Regions from separate parts of the Homo sapiens genome. Here region 2 is linked to region 1. The links are contacts of gene promoters, found by promoter capture Hi-C in human tissues and cell types (Jung and others, 2019). All regions are on one chromosome and are shown on one strand. Each heading gives the region's core, a stretch centred on a gene start or on the middle of the fragment in contact. The rest is flanking DNA. Distances are from core to core; before and after follow the strand shown.

Region 1 (7,553 bases), core at 1,789-4,288:
TGTTAACTCCTCTGACCCAACCCATAAACTAGACTCTGGGCCACTATTTTTGGAGATATATATATATATATATATATATATATATATATATATATATATATATATACTTGAATGAGGAGTTAAAAGCTACAGAGCTCTTCTGATCTTTCCTGCCAGGTCTTCCCCTTCTGAAGGAGAAAGTATGAATCCTTAGGTAAGCCTGATCTTTGGGTTGGGCCTCTCAATTTTCCCACCCTACCCAGGTGAAAAGCACATTCCATCTGAAAAATCTAGAATTAAAAAAAAAATTCTTTGTAAGGCTTTGGAGAGACTCCCTACACAAGGCTATCATTTCTGCTTTTAAATAGGCTAGTTAAAAAACTTATGGTTGCAACTTGTTAAATCATATACAAAAATCTCAACCAGTTTTAAAAATATGAAGAGCAAGCCACAGGATTTTCTACATTGGTATACATCTTTGCCAGACAATCAGAGTCTCCTGTCTATACATATTCTTCATATATTTTTGTGTCCTAAGTCTGAGCATAAACCAAAGCTCCCAGGAAGTTATTGTATTCGAAGTTATTCTTAATATCTGGAGCCTGCATTAGGAACAATGTGTAATTGTTCCATGGGTTAAGGAGACAGTATGCTAGGCTCTTGGCCTCAGAGTGTTCCTACTGGAAAGGTCCCTGAAGATTACCTAGTCAAATCATCCTGGTGTTACACAAGGAAACCGAGACCCAGAAAGGAGAGTCGTTTCCTCAGTAGCATAAAGTCACCAGGTGTTCAGATTCGGCATAGGGCTCATTCTACGCCCTAGTTCCTTTTCCCCGGGAATGCTTTTTCTGTGATGCTTCTTGATGCTATATTTTCCTATTTATTGAAGGTGAAAATAGTCATATTGCTGAAAATCCTTATAATATATACTTGAGTGCCTTAAATAAAAGGCTTTGTGTTAATAAGATTCTAGAATTCAAGAAAAACTGTTGTTAGAACGAGGACCAGATGGCCAACTTCTAGAGAAAGTGCTTCCAGATACCTCTGAATGACTCTTCAGATTTGAGAACAAGGGCCTTTCTAGAGAAGGAAAACCATTAGGCTCCTTCTTAGTCCGAGGCTGGTCAGGCCCCTTGTCTAAAATTCCCCCCAAATGTGTGGGGTACTTTGTTTTTTATTAAGCAGGATTAAGTTACACTAAGGTGCTTTGGATTAAGGCCTTGACATCAACCCAAACACATCTAGGTGCACAGAACAATCAAAAAGTGACTTTTGCGCAGAATTTAAGGTAAACGTTTAGGCAGAAGTGACTGAGAAGAATAAAAGCCTAGATAACCTCCAGGAGAAGAGTGAAGCCCAGGCATACCCCAGAATCGTGACACTTACTGCCACCGTACATCTGGATGTACTGGATGACTAACAGTACAGTCTATTTTTTCAAGAAGGTTATAAAAATCTATGGGCTCCACACTGCGTGTAATGTGGGTGAGGTAACAAGCTGGCGAGAATTTTTGCTTCTGCATTTCCTGATTTAGGAAAGAGGAGTGGTAGGGGTGTAAAAGGTGTATTATGCCTATTACTGAATCTGTATGTATTTGGTCTAATAGTGGTTGCTTGGGCAAAAGTTACTCTCCTACACTGAATATGGAACCCCTTCCAAATCTTGTTCAGGTCCTCAAAGAATCAATGAAACCATTTTCCCTTTCTGATAAATCCGCTGGTCTTGTATCTAGTTGTGTGGATCCATAAATTAAAATACAGAGGATCATTTTCTCTGATCCAAAAATTCTTGGTTTGGGGGTAGTTAAAATGAAACTTCTGAAATTCTATCCTTAGTACGGACATTTAGGACCCAGGGGCTACATCCTAGAATGGAATTGTGCCCTGCTTCCATAAAACGGTTGATAAACCAACAGACACGACTGGATTGTCTTAAACCAAGTTCAACTGTCATTCCATTTTAATCAAAAAGTAAATTGGATTCAGCATATACGAATATATTGACTATCAGTACAACTGAGCCATACAACTGATAGTCTAAGGCTGATGACAAGGAGAAAGCTCCTAAAACAAGGCTTAGGGGAAGGCTGTTCCCCTGTAAGCAAAGCGGACTGAGGGCATTGGTGGCGCAGCAGCGTTCAGAAGTAGAGGGAAGTTTTGATGTATCAAGTACCGAGGGAAACACACACAGCGTGTCTGGAAACCATCAGAAGATGCTAGAAGGAAGTAGTCATGGATAATTCTAGAAATTTCTAGAACACCGACTGGAGGGGGTCATTGTTTAAGATGAGTACAGCCGAGTTTCTCTCCAATTTAAGACACAAGACTGGAGAGAAAGGCGTCGTAGTAAACAGCCCCAACCGGGGGAGCAGGGGGTGTGATAATGAGGCGTTAAGGGGCATTAGGGACAGTAAGAAAAGGAGAGTTGGGGTGACGATTATTGAGCACTGCTATAGGAGGCGGCTCTCGCAGGGATAATCAAGGGAGAGGGGTGTGAAATAAGGGTAACGAATTGCAGGGGTAAACTGTGGGAAGGGGCTGCGCAGACTTCAACAGCAAAGAAAAAGAAGGAACGGGGCTGGGGCGTGGCCCAGAGAGGGAACGGCTCAATAACGGGCTACCGGGTGAAAAGAAGCCGGGTGGGGAGGCGCTCTGCTGACAGCTGCCGCTCCCCCGTGGCGCCCACAGGGTTAAAAATCAGGGGCCACGGGACCAGGCCGAACTCGGTTTCCAGGGCAACGGCTCCACAGTTCCGGCAGCGCAGGCCCGTACCATTGCGCGGGCGCGGGGGAGCGGGAGCGGCGGAGGGGACGCGCTGCAGGGCGGCGGAGCCGGGGCCGGCCCGGGCGCTACCAAACGCACGGCCCGCCTGCTCGCCCGGGGTCTGCGCCGAGCCGCGCTCCGGCCGGACGGCCGCGGCGTCCTTGGTGCGGGGGCCGGCAGCTCCCAAGTGGCCGCGGACGGCGGGGGAGAAGGAACGCACGCCGCCGGCCGGGATTGGCCTCCTGGTCCCCCCGCCTGGGCGGCGGAGTGCGGGCGGCCCGGGGCTGGGAGGTTTGAAAAGCGGGCGAGAGACAAAGGCAGCAGGAAGCCTCCTCCGCGCCCGGAGCCCGTGCGCCCGGCCCCCGGGGCCCCCTCGCCGCCCGCCGGCCCGCGGAGCAGCGGCGGCGGCAGGAGGCGGAGGATGCGGCAGGGGGCGTGGGCGCGGCGGCGCGGGCGGAGCGGCGCGGCCCGGGCGCGGCGTGGGTAGAGCCGAGGCGGCGGCGGCGGCCGGCCTCCGGGAGCGAGAGCGAGGCGCCTTCCCCGCCCGGGATGTGAGCGCCGTGCGGAGCCCGGGGCGGGGGAGGGCCGGGCCGGAGGCGCAGCCGGCAGGAAGGAAGGACGGACGGACCAGGAGGAGGAGCGGCGGCGGCGGCCGGAGCCGGAAGGCGGGGAGGGGCCGGCCGTTGGGCCCGAGGCGGCGGCGGCGGCGGCGGCGGCGGCTGGGGAGAAGCGCTCTCGTCGCCTGCCCGAGGCCGGAGCGGCGGGGCCCGCGCCTCCTCCCCCCAGCGCCGCGGAGGGGGGAGGAGGAAGATGGAGACCCACATCTCATGCCTGTTCCCGGAGCTGCTGGCCATGATCTTCGGCTACCTGGACGTCCGGGACAAGGGGCGCGCGGCGCAGGTGTGCACCGCCTGGCGGGACGCCGCCTACCACAAGTCGGTGTGGCGGGGGGTGGAGGCCAAGCTGCACCTGCGCCGGGCCAACCCGTCGCTGTTCCCCAGCCTGCAGGCCCGGGGCATCCGCCGGGTGCAGATCCTGAGCCTCCGCCGCAGCCTCAGCTACGTGATCCAGGGCATGGCCAACATCGAGAGCCTCAACCTCAGCGGCTGCTACAACCTCACCGACAACGGGCTGGGCCACGCGTTTGTGCAGGAGATCGGCTCCCTGCGCGCTCTCAACCTGAGCCTCTGCAAGCAGATCACTGACAGCAGCCTGGGCCGCATAGCCCAGTACCTCAAGGGCCTGGAGGTGCTGGAGCTGGGAGGTTGCAGCAACATCACCAACACTGGCCTTCTGCTCATCGCCTGGGGTCTGCAGCGCCTCAAGAGCCTTAACCTCCGCAGCTGCCGCCACCTTTCGGATGTGGGCATCGGGCACCTGGCCGGCATGACGCGCAGCGCGGCGGAGGGCTGCCTGGGCCTGGAGCAGCTCACGCTACAGGACTGCCAGAAGCTCACAGATCTTTCTCTAAAGCACATCTCCCGAGGGCTGACGGGCCTGAGGCTCCTCAACCTCAGCTTCTGTGGGGGAATCTCGGACGCTGGCCTCCTGCACCTGTCGCACATGGGCAGCCTGCGCAGCCTCAACCTGCGCTCCTGTGACAACATCAGTGACACGGGCATCATGCATCTGGCCATGGGCAGCCTGCGCCTCTCGGGGCTGGATGTTTCGTTCTGTGACAAGGTGGGAGACCAGAGTCTGGCTTACATAGCCCAGGGGCTGGATGGCCTCAAGTCTCTCTCCCTCTGCTCCTGCCACATCAGTGATGATGGCATCAACCGCATGGTGCGGCAGATGCACGGGCTGCGCACGCTCAACATTGGACAGTGTGTGCGCATCACGGACAAGGGCCTGGAGCTGATCGCTGAGCACCTGAGCCAACTCACCGGCATAGACCTGTACGGCTGCACCCGAATCACCAAGCGCGGCCTGGAGCGCATCACGCAGCTGCCGTGCCTCAAGGTACTCAACCTGGGACTCTGGCAGATGACGGACAGTGAGAAGGTCAGGTGAGGGCGGCAGCACCAGCTCCCCTTGTCCCGCCCTGTTCATCCTCCCATTACCACCGCCCCCACACACTCACACGCACACTTACGCACAGATCATTGCAGCGGATGAGATGGGGCTATGACAGAAGCCTCAGGCTCGTTTCCTCCTCCCTCCTCCAGCCCCCTCCCGGCTTCCAGCCCATTCTCTTTGCAGCTGGGGTTCCTACCCTACCCTACTCCCAGCTCCTTTTCCCCGCGGATGGAGAGATGGACTCTGCTGCTTACCCACCCACTCCCCTGCAGGGGGTGGAGGACTGATTCAGCTACTGTATCCCCACTGCTGTGACTGGAAATGGGGGTGGGGAGTGACTGGTCTTTTCAACCCTGGGGAGTTGAGGAAAATGTCTGCTTTCACTTCAGCTTTCATTTGAATACTGTGATCTGGTTTTTATTTTGAAATGTATAAAAAGCAAACCCAGCTACAAAGGCCTTTTCACCCTTCCACTTTGTAACTAATCCCAGTCTCTTCTCATCACTCCTCCTCTTACAGTACTCTGCTATTCATGCTCATTTCATGTTCTTAATCTTCTTTCCTGTTTAAAAATTTTTTTTTGGAAAAAATTTGAAATCATGGTCCTTTTTTCTGCTGAATATATTCTATATATTATATATATATAAATTATATATATATATATATACATATATATGTCTGGCTACCTCGTTTTAGTTTACTTTTTTTCTGAAGCCCTGGAATTCTACAAGAGAGATATTTTGAGACTGAAACATGTTTGTGCCTAGACTGGAAAGATGCCCTTGGGTTTGTCCGTCTTTTTGTGTTGGCTTCTTCCCAGCCTCCATCCGTCCAGTGTGCCCCACTTCCACATTCTGGCTATAATTTCCTTTTTCTCCTTGTTCATTGGGATTTGAGGACCTATTTCTAAATCTTAATTTATAGCACAAATATGTGGGAGCAATGAGAGTTGAACCGTTGTTTTTGTTGGAGATGCAGATTGTGTCTTGAAAATGATGATTATATATGCAAATTCTGCCCTACCCTCACCCTCTTCCAAGTTTCCCCCCAAAAAGGTCACACAGTGCGGCTTCCTGTGGGAAACAGGAGCAGAGCTGGCCTGCAGAGCCCCTGGGGCTGTGATGAAGCTCATATCTTATCTCTGTTCTATTAACAAAATGGGAGTTTGTGGGTTTTAAAAAATTCCGTTTCTAAATGGAGGAATAGATGACTTTCTTTCTTTTGGTGGGGGTTGGGACTTGTGGCTTTAAAGAAATCACTTCTGAGTAGGATGTATATTTTCGTTGGATTTTTGTTGTTATTTCTTTAGAACCCTCCACAGCAACATGCAAGACCATGGAGTTAAAGAAACCCAGAGACCTTTATCAATTAATTGTACTGTTTGTGAATTTGTATAAATAATAACAAAGATCCTCTTAAAACGTTTATATTCTTACAGTAAAAGGTTAAACTGATATTTATATAATAAAAGAGGAAATATGAAGTATGTTTTTGAAAAAAAAAAAAAAAACAACAGCCTTGTATCTGCGAATTATTTTTAAGGCATTGTGTGCTTGGGTACATGCCAAGGTAGGAGGTGTTGTTTGTATACTCTAAGAGGACGCAAGGTGGAGTTTGGTGCATCCTATGTGGGGGTGAGTCAACTCATGGGTAGAATTTTATTCTGTATAAGGTTTACTACTGACATGTTTTGTTTCTAGAAATGTGATTAGACTGGAGATTTATATAATGTTTGGCTTTAAACTTTCAACAACGTGGAAATTTAAAGAAATTGAACAAAATGAAACTTTTTAAAAAACCAGATTTGTATGTAAGTCACAGTTTCCCCGAGTGGCCAGTTTTTCTTTGGGTGAAAATGAGATCTAGAGGTGATGTTGAAAAGTGGTTCACGACGTGGGCAAGAAAGATGGATTTTTTTTACCCTGAGAGTGGGTGTGGGGAGGATGTGAAGGTGGAAGGACTGAAGCCATTGTTGAGAAAAGTTAAAAGAGCGCTGTCCTTGCGTGCTTGCCGGCTCAGTCATGCATACTGAATCTCCCAGTGTGAGCGAGGGTCCGGGTGGAGAGGAGGAGGGCAGCTCAAGCCCTCTTTTTCACATTCCCCTCCAGGCCCGGCTGTAAGGAAGCACTTTCCTGGGGGATGGGGAGCTTGGCCAGGATTTTGCACATTTGCATTTTAGCACTTCCAATAGCCGAGGCTGGCCGCTGGATCCACTCTGTCAAGGGTTTTTAGACTGAAATCGGGGCAGATTAATGAAATACCAGAATTCCAGCAAGAGTTCCCTTTGGTAGACAGTAACAAAATAATCTGACACCCTGTGGTTTGGCTGTGGAGACCTATGGGTGTGAGTGCTCCAACAGGGGAGTGGTTCATATTCCTGGTTTCACATTGGTCTGGGTTGTTTCTGAGATTGTTAAAAAAAATACTGATCTCAGCAAGAGCTGATAAGAGTAGTATAAAACTTTCCTGGATCAACCCCTCTTTCCAGGAAGAGGGCTGGAACCCAGGTTTCTCTTGGGATAAGATTGTTTTGTAAAATGTCCAAGCTTTCTGCCTGAGCATATCACAAAAGCCGCATTGTTCCTTTTTGGAGAGTCATCACAATTGGGTCTAATTGAGCCTGACACTAGATCCATCTTCTGTTTCTTTGGGGAAGGTGTGGATCTCTTTCTTCCCACTTAGGTTACAGTGCTTAATGCCTGGAAAAAAAAAAAAGTGTGAAGCCTATTAAGAAGTAGGGACTCTGAATTAGGGTCAGCTTTCTAATCCAGCATTTGACACAACTCCTGAAG
Region 2 (7,500 bases), core at 1,451-3,950, 200 kb after region 1:
GTGTTGGGATTACAGGCGTAAGCCACCACACCCAGCCAAAGTTCTTAAAGCTAGATGTTCTGAGGGAATTTTATCTTTTCTTTTTACAAAATCATGGTCCATACATGGTAAGAAAAGAATATAACTGAGTCAAAACATAAACCAACTATACACCTGTGTGTACATACAGTGAAGTATCTTTAAATAAACCCAGAGGATATAAAGGCATTTTTAGATTCTTACTGAACCATTCAGATTGAAAGCAAATGATATAAGGCCAAACTCTCCAATACCATTTTTTTCTCCTATACTCTGACTATTCATTATAAAAGGATTTCTCTGTATATATGTATCTGTACAAACATACGTGGTTACATTGTTAAAATTTTCCCACAGCTACTATTGCACTCTTGATTTTCTCTATTCTCTAAAGTTTCTTTTTTGTACAACTGAGCTAAATGGCTTTCAGTCTTTTCTGTAGAAGAAAAAAACAGAAAACCACCATTTATTAAAATCAGGCTTTTCTAAAAAAAGTTGTTAATTATAGAAAAGTATCTTAAATTATCTATCTCTTCATAGTTGTTGAAATATTTCCACTTATAATTTTATAAATCCAAATATTTGAAAAACTTTGATTTCCAGAAATATACAAGTATCAGGTATAGATTGATTCTGATAAGAAATGAATACCCATTAAGGACCACTTAAAATGAATTGGAAGCTGAATAAAGTAATGATACTAGACATCAAAGCTCAACTGCTGCCAGAGGTATGGTTTTCCAAAACAGGTAAATATGTGACTTGGGCTAAGGGATGAGGTAGTAATGAAAATTATAACTTAAAAAAATCGGTTATCTGCATGTAAGCATTAAAATTCAACCTACTGATTACTTAGATATCTAAGCCCAGAACATACATTTTATTTTCCTAAAGAGAAAAGGTAGTTTGCTTAAGTCTTCCTTCAAAAATAAATCCCCACCCTTGAGGCCTGATCACTCATGAGATCTGATCAAATTCCTCATCTCCCACTATCAATATGTCATCTCTCTGGCTTGTCTTCAGCAACTCCTGTTGAGTAGGTCTGGCAAGAATCCCCCAGCCATGACGTTTCTTCTTAGTAATTTTCCATCACTGACCCCCACCCTGCTCCTTCGCTACACATCTCCATTGGTCCTTGTGTATTCTGAGTTGAGCCCAATCTCTGCCCTCTAACACAAATCCTCATCTCAGTGGTCCCCTGAATAGTCTGCCTTACTGTCTTTAAGAAGTATCAGGAATATTTTTTTTTCTCCAGCACACTAAGTATAAAAGTACAACAAGAACTATACACACAGACAAACACTAAAAAGGCAGAGAGAAGGCAGACCAGTCAGGAGTGCTGTGACCTGCAGCTCCCTGGATCTTTCTGCCTTATATATCCAGAGGTAGAGCTGAAGAAGCCAACAACCAGGAAATGCCAACAGGCACAGACCAAAAAAGCTTCAACAGGAGCCCACTCTCTCTAGCCAAAGAAGCCTCCAAAGGAAAGGGACAGCCTAGCAACATAGAAACCTGTGGGACAACAATCACTCTATTCCAAAGACCATGTGGTCCCACTGTCACTCATGTCAGTAAAGACCAAGCGGCGGGCCCCATGCTCACCAGGTTGTGAGGAGGTGCTTCAGCCTCTCCTTGCTCCACTGGAAGGTGTCAGGGAAAGCCGAGGGAGGCAGGGCTATAATCTCCAACCATCAGCAATGAAGTCTCCCCTCCACAGTGTCACTAGAGACTAGGTGAGGATTCTAGAATTCCACCTCCATGGAGCAGTAACAGCCGTGTCTCCTGGTGGAGTCGGACCTTCACTACCGCACAGCAGTAACCAGGCCCCCCTTCCTTCACCCCCACTGTGTTAGTGGAGGCCTTCCTACCCTAACCAGGCAGGGATACACCAGTGAAGCCTAGTGGGGACATGAATACCCATCTCCACCTAGGAGTAACAAGAAGCCTCCACCCCTTGAGTGTCAGCAGGGTCCAAGTGGGAGAAACTGGACTTCTACCTCCACTGGGCAATACTGAGGCAGCACCCCATTCTTCCCCTGCTGGAGTGGTGTCAAAGAAAACCAGCTAAAACAGAAGTCTAAGTAAGACCCAGAGTCATATCGCATAACATCCAACATGTCCAGGTTTCAACTGAGAATCACTCAACATCCCAAGAACCAGGAAGACCTCAAACTGAATGAATAAAAGACAATTATGATTAAAGGCACAGCAGCGAACTGAAACATTCATCTTGCCAATAGGATTAGGTAATTAGGCAGCAACTGATCAGCTACCATAGCTGGACTACTGCTGGGCACCAGAAGTCAGAAACAGCTCTTAGAAGACATGCCAACATAGCTGCTCCCTCCCTCATCAAACTTGTCAGTAAGGCTTCATTAATTTCCTCTCCATTCCTGGAGTGGGATGGTTGAATCAGAGTGCGACTGTGTGTGTCTGGAAGTGACCTCAACTTAATCAGACCTCAACTCAATCAACTAGGAAACTTCTAGGGCAGGGCAACCTATTCCAGTCCCAGTTCTTGTAGTAATTTGACCATAGTGAATCCACAACTGGGTTCATTTAATACTCCAAAATTCATGGTTTGACCACAGTTTTATTTTGGTGGTGACTAAACTAACCCCACCTCCGGGAGATGAACTGACAGTACCTTTGGGCATCCTAAGCATGCTCTGGTAAGTACTTTTGACTTTCCTTCCAGTTTTTAGGTTCAGAAAAATTCATTCTTTGTCCCATGTTTCACCTTCCCATTTAGATTAATAGTAGTAAATGTTAATTTTATTAACTCAGTAATGTATCAATTTAGTAATTTTTACTTTTATCAATTTGAAAAATTAAACTTTATTATTTTTTAAATGTATTGATTTATTAATCAATATTAATAGACAGTTGGTATTTACTGTATCCTTGATTTTTTTAAAATTTTAATTTATGTCACTGTGGGTTACACTGTCCTAGAAATATATGGAGCCATACTGGCTAGTGATCAGTTCTAAATATATCAAGAGACAGGTTTATCGCTAAACAGGCTGACTTATCCCTGTTTAGATGTTTGTTATAAGCTAATCACTAATCATAACATACCAGTGTTTACTACTATAATTAGAAGGAAATAATCTACCAAAGAAAATAAAAATTTTAATAAAATGTCTACTGGTATTTTGAAGTATAATTTACCACCCAAATATACAAAGGTCACTTCCAGACACACACAGCCCCGCTATGATTCAACCATCCCACCCCATGAGTGGAGAGGAAATTAATGAAGCCTTAACGACAAGTTTGATTAGTTCATGAAATAAGTGTGTAACTTAAAATGGAGAGATTAACCTACTCAAGGGTTTTTTTGTTGTTGTTTCTTTAAAGGCACTACATATTTTTGCTTAGAGACTGAATGCAAAACAGATTTTTTAATGTAAGGTGCTTTTAAGGAAAATAGGCAAAATACCCGGGAATTAATAGGATTTGGACAGAATTCTTTTCTTGAGGGAGTGCTTTTCAAGACTACATTTATGTTAACTCTTTGGAGTATTCATGTAGCATTATCCTCATTTCCAGGAACAGAGCTTTATTAATTTATATATCAAATCAGCAAAATGGCTATGGGGTATATAAGATCACAATCACCTGTGATATATTGTGCCATAAATGCTTAAAGCATTTTCAACACATGTAAGACATGAAAAAAAGGTCTTAAAAACCCTAGAACTGCATAAAAACTCCTAGCAATGCATATCCAGTAGAGCCAATTCTGAAATCCATTACCAACAGGCTTACAGAGGGCATATGCTCATTGAACTATAATCTGTAAGGATGAAAAGAATGGCCTGTGTTAATATTTTAGTATGTGTCAGAAAACAGTAAAAAGTAAGTATAACTTGCCTATATTCTCTCTTAAGCAAGCTATTCCATTTTCATGGGTTTAAGTAGTATTTCTGTTCTGATGACTCCAAAATTATCATTTCTAGCTCTCATCTTTACCTGGAGCATCTCCAGCCAACGGCTTTCTTGATGTATCTATTTGGGTATAAATAACCTCGAATTCAACTCTACTAAAAATAAGCATGTTATATTCTCTTCCATATATGGCCTTTCTTCTTGATTACTCATTTTAATTAGGGAGACCACTTCCACTTACTTGGCCAGACCAGACATCTGACTGGCCAGTGGTCTGTGGGTAGTGACCGTGGGACCCAAGCATAGAAGAAACAGCACGGGAACCACCAATTACTTGTTCCTTTGCCACAGTGACCAAGAAGGCCTCATACTGAAAGAGCTAAAGGAGGAAATTTTTAGTAGAATTGGATTACTGAATTGCTGCATGGAGGGCAGCTTCCTCATAGAGCCGGCAAGATCTGCGGTGGACTTTGTGTAACCAAGAAATAAGCGTTTACTGTGTTAAGGCACTAAGATTAGGTGGTGTTTGATACACAGAATGGCCTAGTGAATACATTACTCCATCTCAACTACCCTATATTCTTGTCCTCATCATTTCATATTTGGGCAACTGGAATAGATTCTTAAACAGTCTCCCTGTTTTTAATCTTACCATCTTCTTACTCCAGGCTCCCCTTAACTTCCTCCATTAGCTGCCAGAGTGATTGATTTATCTATAAAAGAAAACTCTGAAAACATCGGTGAGACTAAAAGCCTCTCCATGGCTTGGCATCCCCTACAGGAGCAAGTCCAAGCTACTCTCAGCATTGTCAATCCAGGGCTCTCCGTGACCTGTCTCCTCCTGGCTCTGGAGTCTCACGTCACTGCCCAGGAGTAGTGCAGACTTGGTAATAAGAAGCCTTCTATGGCTCCCTGATCTCAGGATGCTTCATGCTTCAGCAACCCTGGCCACAATGATCCCTCTGCCTAAGAGCTCCTTTTCTAGCTCATTCATGAGGCTAATTTTTTTTTTTTTTTTTTTTTTTGAGACAGAGTCTCTGTCACCCAGGCTGGAGTGCGGTGGCGCAATCTCAGTTCACTGCAAGCTCCGCCTCCCGGGTTCACACCATTCTCCTGCCTCAGCCTCTCCGAGTAGCTGGGACTACAGGTGCCCACCACCACGCCTGGCTAATTTTTTGTATTTTTAACAGAGACAGGGTTTCACCGTGGTCTCGATCTTCTGACCTCCTGATCCGCCCGCCTCGGCCTCCCAAAGTGCTGGGATTACAAGCGTGAGCCACCACGCCCGGCCGAGGCTAACTCTTATTAGTCTCTTAGTATTCTCCTTTCTCCAAAAATATTATTTGACCTCTTCTGCCCCGAGGCTGTCTTAAGAATGTCTTCTTTGCATATATCAACAAATGCTAGTGATTAAGCAGAGATAATGTATTCACCTTTCTCCTTCAAATAAAGGGGAACCCTAATACCTTCAGGGGCAACAAGCTTGTCATACATGAAGGACTCGAGAAGCTGTGTTACCTACTCCATGTGTTAGTTTCCTGGAGCTGCCGTAAGAAATGATCACAAACAACATAAACACAACATAAATTTACTCTCTCACAGTTCTAGCGGCCCCAAGTCCAAAAGTATGGTGTTGGCAGGGCCATGTTCCCTGTGGAGATGCTAAGGGAGCATCCTTCCTTGCCTCTTTTGGCTTCAGTGACTGTGGACATTTCTTGGTTCATAGCCACCCAGTCTAATCTCTGCCTCTGCCTTTATATCACCTTATCTTCTGTATCTGTCTTCTCTCTGTCTCTCACAAGGACTTGTCATTAGGGTTAGGGCCCCACCTGGATAATCAAGAATGATCTCTTCTTGAAATCCTTAATTTAATCCCATCTGCAAAGACCCTTTATCCAAATATGGTTTCATTTACAGGTTATAGAAACTGGACGTGGACATAATGTTTTTTGGGGGCTATAAGTTTGGGGAGGGCATATGTTTTGGGGGGCATTCCATCTACTACAGCCTGCCTTCTAGTCCCACCAAATTCTTATCTGTCCCATACACAACATAGGTTCACCCCATTCCAGTATCCCCAAAAATCTTAACCCACTATGGCACAACTCTAAATCCAAAATTCCATCTAAACAGCATCACTTGAAAGTCCCAAATCTCCTCATCTAATTAATCTGAGTTGGGTATGAGGGAGACTAAGTATGATCCATCTTCTCCATCTGTCAATATGCGAAACAGAAAACAAGTTATCAGGTTCCAAAATACAACGGTGGGACCAGTATATGATAGACATTCTCATTCCAAAAGGGAAAAACTGGAAGAAAAAAAGGGCTCATCAGCCCCAAGCAAGTCTGAAATCCAGCAGAGAAAATTCCATTAGGTTTCAAGGTCTGAGAACAATCCTCTGACTCAAGGCTGTGCCCTCTGCCTGTGGTGGCTCCCCTGGCTTCTGCCTCTGGGTCCCTGGTTGCTCTGTTGACAGAAAATCTTTAAGTTTTGATTTTTTAAGATACAATTAATCAATACTGTCAGAATTCAGTAGAGCAGTTACTCCTGCAGGAATAGGCAGGGGATGGTACCTGAAAACGGAGTGTGAGAACTGGTTGCTGGGGTGTCGGCAATCATCTGCTTCCTGGATGTAGATGCTGGTTACATAAGTGTGTAAAATTTCACTGACATGTATACTTAGACATGTGTACTTTTTAATGTTTTTTTTTTTTTTGAGACGAAGTCTTGCTCTGTTGCCCAGGCTGGATGGAGTGCAGTGGTGCAATCTTGGCTCACTGCAACCTCTGCCTCCTGGATCCAAGCGATCCTCCCACCTCAGCCTCTGGAGTAGCTGGGATTACAGGTGTGCACCACCATGGCTGGCTAATTTTTGTATTTTTAGTAGAGACGGGGTTTCACCATGTTGGCCAGGCTGGTCTCAAACTCTTGACCTCAAGTGATCTGCCTGCCTTGGCGTCCCAAAGTGCTGGGATTACAGGTATAAGCCACCATGCCTGGCTGCATGCATTTCAATTAAAATTTTTTTTGTGACCGGGCACAGTGGTTTGCGCCTGTAATCCCAACACTTTGGGAGGCTGAGGTGGGCAGATCACAATGTCAGGAGTTCGAGACCAGCCTGGCCAATATGGTGAAACCCTGTCTCTACTAAAAATACAAAAATAGCTGGGCATGGTGGCAGGCACCTATAGTCCCAGCTACTCGGGAGGCTGAGGCAGGAGAATCGCTTGAACCCAGGAAGCGGAGGTTGCAGTGAGCTAAGCTCGTGCCACTGCACTCCAGCTTGGTCGAAAGAGCAAGACTCTGTCTCAAAAAAAAAAAAAAAAAAAAAAAAAAGGGCTGCATTGCAAGAAGCTTTAAGCAACAGAGGAAATGATCTCTGACAAGGAGAGTAATTTCTGTCAATCATGGCTCATGTTTTTTCTTTTCCTATAGTTATATCATTATGGTAATAAAAAGGAGGATATTTCAGTTATGGCTCCTTACTAGACGACACAAAAGTAAGAGACCCACTTAGTCTCATCTGAGATTGTTAAAATATGTATTAAGAGAAATAGTTACTTCAGTGCACAGCCATAAGAAGAG

The links. Contacts are between HindIII fragments. The study calls those that stand out against the background at their distance.
Region 2: a fragment that was not itself captured here is called in contact with the fragment with the promoter of FBXL14 in region 1 in 1 of the 25 tissues and cell types used here (H1 embryonic stem cells).

Annotation. Positions count from the first base shown.
Region 1 is chr12:1,590,066-1,597,618 of GRCh38, reverse strand. FBXL14 (F-box and leucine rich repeat protein 14) reads left to right here and starts at 3,038. Exons shown (of 2, transcript NM_152441.3): 1 at 3,038-4,746. The coding sequence starts at 3,553. RefSeq lists enhancers at 2,334-2,403, 3,774-3,963, 4,481-5,084 and silencers at 2,664-3,533, 4,514-4,563. The HindIII fragment of the contact is 15,118 bases long and covers 1-7,553 here.
Region 2 is chr12:1,385,783-1,393,282 of GRCh38, reverse strand. All of the region lies in intron 16 of ERC1 (ELKS/RAB6-interacting/CAST family member 1), which reads right to left. Among named protein-coding and RNA genes, the nearest start is that of LINC00942, 110 kb to the left of the region's middle. The HindIII fragment of the contact is 7,264 bases long and covers 1-6,332 here.